2 separate regions of the Homo sapiens genome follow, and region 2 is linked to region 1. The links are contacts of gene promoters, found by promoter capture Hi-C in human tissues and cell types (Jung and others, 2019). All regions are on one chromosome and are shown on one strand. The core of a region is centred on a gene start or on the middle of the fragment in contact, and the rest is flanking DNA. Distances in the headings are between cores, read along the strand shown.

Evidence for each region. Contacts are between HindIII fragments. The study calls those that stand out against the background at their distance.
Region 2: a fragment that was not itself captured here is called in contact with the fragment with the promoter of CEBPD in region 1 in 1 of the 25 tissues and cell types used here (lymphoblastoid cells).

Annotation. Positions count from the first base shown.
Region 1 is chr8:47,736,865-47,739,564 of GRCh38, forward strand. CEBPD (CCAAT enhancer binding protein delta) reads right to left here and starts at 1,300. Exons shown (of 1, transcript NM_005195.4): 1 at 49-1,300. The coding sequence starts at 1,256. The coding sequence ends at 447. RefSeq lists an enhancer at 324-1,262 and silencers at 659-848, 1,339-1,448, 1,489-1,568, 1,659-2,128. The HindIII fragment of the contact is 24,041 bases long and covers 1-2,700 here.
Region 2 is chr8:46,995,783-46,998,482 of GRCh38, forward strand. No RefSeq gene overlaps it. Among named protein-coding and RNA genes, the nearest start is that of LINC00293, 160 kb to the left of the region's middle. RefSeq lists a silencer at 2,155-2,403. The HindIII fragment of the contact is 5,463 bases long and covers 1-2,700 here.

The DNA.
Region 1 (2,700 bases), core at 50-2,549:
GCGCCACCGGCGGGCGGGCGGGAGTCACTGCGAATATAGGAAGCAGGGGCGATTTCAAATGCTGCTTTATTCTTACAAATACTGTAAAAATTAATATAAAAAAGTGAGCATGCTCAGTCTTTTCCTCTTATCTACAATACAAAGGGTTTGTCTGAAAAGTCTGGTTTTTTTTCTTTTTACAAATGTACCTTAGCTGCATCAACAGGAGTAAGATGTAGAAAAAGCTACCATTACAAAAATAATTTAAGGGAAAATAAACACGTTTAGCTTCTCTCGCAGTTTAGTGGTGGTAAGTCCAGGCTGTAGCTTCTTTGCGCTCCTATGTCCCAAGAAACTGCAGCGGGCACCCGGCGGCTCTGGCTGCGCCAGGGCAGGGCGCGCTCCGCTCCGGGCCGTCGGGTCTGAGGTATGGGTCGTTGCTGAGTCTCTCCCGCCCCGGCCGCGCGTTACCGGCAGTCTGCTGTCCCGGCGGCCGGCAGGAAGGGCGGGCTGGGCAGCTGCTTGAAGAACTGCCGGAGGCCGGCCAGGTCCCGCGTGAGCTGCTCCACGCGCTGGTGCAGCTTCTCGTTCTCAGCCGACAGCTCCACCAACTTCTGCTGCATCTCCTGGTTGCGCCGCTTGGCCTTGTCGCGGCTCTTGCGCACGGCGATGTTGTTGCGCTCGCGCCGCTGCCGGTACTCGGGGCTGCCGCGGTCCGGGCCCCTCTTGCCGGCGCTCTTCTCCCGGGCGGGGCCGGGCGCGGGGGTCTGCCTGGGGCTGCTGCGCGGCGGCTCCGGCGACGTGGGCGGGGTGGGCTGCCCTGCGGCCGCCAAGCTCACCACGGTCTGTGCGCACGCGGCCACCTGCGCGGGCAACAGCGAGCCGGGCGCGTCGCCGTCGCCCCAGTCGGGCTCGCGCTTGAGCAGGCGGGGAGCGGCAGGGCCCGGGCCCAAGGGGCGCGCGGGGCCGCCGGGAAGAAGCTCCAGGGGCCCCGCGCCGCCCGCCTTGTGATTGCTGTTGAAGAGGTCGGCGAAGAGCTCGTCGTGGCACAGCTCCAGGGTGGGCACGGCGGCCATGGAGTCGATGTAGGCGCTGAAGTCGATGGCGCTCTCGTCGTCGTACATGGCGGGGGCGGCGGCGCCTGGCTCGCCTAGGGCCCCTGGCTCGGCCCCGCGGCCCGGCTTGCCCGCCCGGCCCGGTTCGTAGAAGGGCGCAGGCTCCGCAGGCCAGGGCGCGCCGCGCGCCGGGCCGTCCAGGCTGAAGAGCGCGGCGCTCATGGCGGCGTCGGGCCGGGCTCTGCGTCCAAGCGAGGCTGTCACCTCGCTGGGCCCAGCCCCGCCGCCTTTTCTAGCCCCGGCTGACGTGCACGCCCCGCCCCGACTCCGGCACCGCGGGGGCGCCCCGGGGCCGCGGGGGAAGGGGCGGGGGCGCCCTGGGAGCCCCCCGGAGCCGCCCCGAGCCTTCCCGGGGCGCGCCCCCTCTCAGTTCCTCCCCGGGGCCCCCTCCCCGGCCCTGGGGACCCCCAGCCCACGTTGCAGGAGGGTGCCCGCGCTGCTGCTCCCTCCCCGGCCCGGGCCGGCCTGCGCTGCGCTGCTGGGAATGACACTCCCTCTGCCAGCACTCCAGGGCCTTCTCTTCTTCCTGTTTGTGGGCTTGGAACCTCCTCGCTCCTCGGGGTTGGGAGTGAAATCAAAACCAGGACTTGGCCGCAGCGCGCGCGTCCCAGGCCGGCTCCTGTCGCCGGAGGGCGGGGGGTGGAGACCCGTGGGAGAGGACCCGCGCGTCCAAGGACGCCCCCCGACCGTGGGCACGCGCGTGAGGCCCTCGCCCCGCGCCTCCACCGTGGGACCAGATGCGGGAAGAGGCGTGGGGGACCAGACGTGGGGACAGCGGCGGCCTGGCAGGCGGGGAGGGCTGCCCGCACCGCACTCGGGCGCCTCGGGGAATCCGGGCCGGTTCTCGCTGCTCTCCTCGGAGGTCCCGGGTCCGGCCGGCCCTGGGGGTCGAGGCCCAGAGACGCGGCTGCTGCGTCCTGGCCGAAAGGCCGACGGGACGCTGTCGCCAAAAGCAGAGCAGATGGGGGAGACGCGGTCACGACACCGCGTCCTCCGCCGGCTCCTCGAGGTGCGGGCTCTCCGGCCGGACGCTACTCCCCGACCCCGCAGACCCGGGCGTCCGCCGCCAGCTCCCGCGCCCGCGTTTCTTCCAGGTCTACGGAAGCAGTGCCATCGTGTGGCGGCATCTTGCGTTAGACCTGTTTTTAGTTCCAGGCTCTTTCCCTGTTAAATATTCCAAAAAAGTGCCTTGAACCTAAAGTAGTTGGGTCCTTTTTGGGAAACAGGTAAGATCTACCAGTAGCTATAGCAGGGTGCAGATGGGCCTCGACTCACGATGGGGTTACATCCCGGTAGACCCATCGCACACTGAAAATGTCTTAAGTAAGAATGGGCTTTGTCATGTGTCCTGCAATTTGAGGCAGGCATTTCTGGTCAGACCCATTTATTATTTTAAATTAAAAATATGGTTTTTTTCAGCCGAGCACAGTGGCTCATGCCGGTAATCCCAGCATTTTGGGAGGCTGAGGTGGGCGGATCACTTGAGGTCAGGAGTTTGAAACCAGCCTGGTCAACATGGTGAAACCCCATTTCTACTAAAAATACAAAAATTAGCCAAGCGTAGTGGCGTGCGCCTGTAATCCCAGCTACTCGGGAGGCTGAGGCA
Region 2 (2,700 bases), core at 123-2,622, 740 kb before region 1:
GAAATATTCATTTTGGGGGGGATTAAAATGTCACCGTCTTTATATTCAGAATATGCTGTATATTCAGAGGAATAAGAATGGAAGTTCCAGTCAGTCCGATTTTCTTTAGTCCATATTTTAAAAGACCAGTGTGTCAAGACTTGTGGGTTTGTTATATATGCAGACTAGCAAGTTCAGTTAGCCAAATATTGAGTAACTTCAAACTATCTCCAGTTGTACTGAGATCACCCATGCTAGAGAAACATTGATATTTTAATCTATTCTTCAATACTGAAAAAATTAAGGGAAAGCTTATATGTTTTTCATAATATTATTTACCAAACTAATAATATAAACTTCCATACTTACCTTGTCTCTGCCTTTATAGCCCATGAGTTGCCTTTTAGCAAACCATGCTAGAATGATATAGAGTTACTTACATCTTAGACCTATCAAAAGAGCCTCAGACATTTCATTCAGTTTGATTGATGGGAGAACATTTATCTAAGTATTTCAAAAATATTTATTGTGCACACATCTACCCCAAACATGTTACTATATGCTGGAAACAAATAGGTAAATAAGGTAGTTATGATGGCTATATTGGTCAAGTTTATATTTTAGAGAGGGAGATATGTAATACATAAGGAAACAATTAGAAGAAAATAAATACAATATTTGCTGCTTGTACTGAGATATTTTAATCAAATAGATAGATCGGCCTAATTTCTGTTGGTTGGTCAAAGACAGCCTCTTTGCAGTGCAGACTTGTGAGCTGAGAGGTGATGGAGAGAGGAAGCCAGAGAAGCTGCTTCCCACTTACTTCCCAGGCACTGCCTCTAAAGGTGATGTTTTATGTTTATACATATAGCATTCTATGATTTCATTCCATTCTGGAATGGTACTGAGTAATATAGGAGGGAGGAAATTCTAGGTCTGTGCCCTTACAATAGGCTGCGGTACTGAAAACCTCTGCTGGGGAATACTGTATGTATACATGAATATTTCCATAAACACGCTCATATCATCATGTATGTGTGTGTGTTTATTTATCTATCTATATCTGTCTATATTCATACAGAGTCACACTATAGAAAATAGAAGTATTGGTAGATGGAGGCAGTGAAAATAATATAAAAAGAAACTTCCATACATGTGAAGACCTATCTGCCCTATAAGCCATATCCACAATAGTACACAAATAAAGGTACACTCTGACATACATCCTGCTGCATTTCATATATACTAGGAAACCATTCATTTTTGTTGCTCTTCTGTGAGTAGAAAAACGTATTAAGGCCAAAGCATCATTCATTGCAAGATCGATGTTAATCCTTCCTCCTCTGGTGAGCACCAGGCCAGAGATGAACCAGCCCCAGTCCAAAGGCCCTCGCCCAAATCTGAGAATGCCGACTTCTTCTCTTCAGGCTTTTCATCAGGACAGGAGCTTTATTTTTTTTCTATAAATGTGTGATGTAGGAATACACTCTTGTCGTTAATTTTTGCTGGCTGGAGAAAGGTCTTTTTGGTTATGGGAAGAGAAGCCTAGATATATTCCCTGAAAATAGACTGTTGTACTGAGAGCAAATGTTAGGGTGCATGGTACCTGGGCAAAAGGCAACAGGCCAGGGTCAACATGCACTCTAGGGCCAAAACTGGCTGTATCGGTCAGGCCAATTGTTCTTTTTGTCAAAGGCTTTACCCACTGATGTTAGCCAGCTCTTCCCAGTCCTAGCTGAATGGACAGAACCCCACTGGGCTGGTTTCCTGAGCCCTTGAATTAAAAACACCTGGGTGCCAGGTAACACGGACTTTGTCACAGGTAGGAGAATGGAGTATGGTGTGTGGCTTGGATTAGATTCACCTGTAGTGAGCTAATTGGCTGATTGGATTCACTTGGGCTGGAGCAGCTGAAATGAGAGATGACCACTGACCTAGTTTTTTTATGGGGCTTTCTTTTGTATATAGATAGGCACATAAGTAAACGCACACATACAGCATTATATGAGTATGTCTATGTAATGTTCATTTGTAAGTATGTCTGTGTAAAAAATCCCCAAATAAAATCTAGATTAAAGGTCATTTCAGATTACAGCCCCTGCAGCCCAGGTGAGTCAAATCAGCCAGTTAGCTCAGGCCAGGTGAGTCCAGTAAGCCAATGAGGTGACTCGGGACTGCTGAAGCATCAAGCGAAGCCAACAAGAATGGATGCGAAGAACACAGACATCCCTCGAGAAGGAGTGTAGGGCCCTGAGGTGCTGAGTGGGACATGACGCCTTATATGGCAGCACAGCTTGCTCACTTCCTGGACCTTTTGCCTGAAGGTGAAGCTTTATCTTTATATGGACAACATTCTATGGTTGTGTTCCATCCTGGAATGGTATTGAACCATATAGGAGGGAAGAAAGACAAGATCTATGCCCTTACGATAGGCTGGAGTATTGAAAACATCTGTTGGGAAATATTGAATGTACACTGAATATTTCCAAAGGCATCTCATATAATACTCTATGCCTGTGTTTATCTACCTGTCTATACCTATATCCATATATGTATATATCGATATTCATACAGAGTAAAAGATATACAAGGTAAAAGTATTGCTAGGTATTAAAATAATAATATTAAAAAAGTTTCCATACATGTAAAGACCTATGTGCTCTATAAATGATATCTACATAGGACACAAATGAACATATACTCTAAATACATCCTGATGCA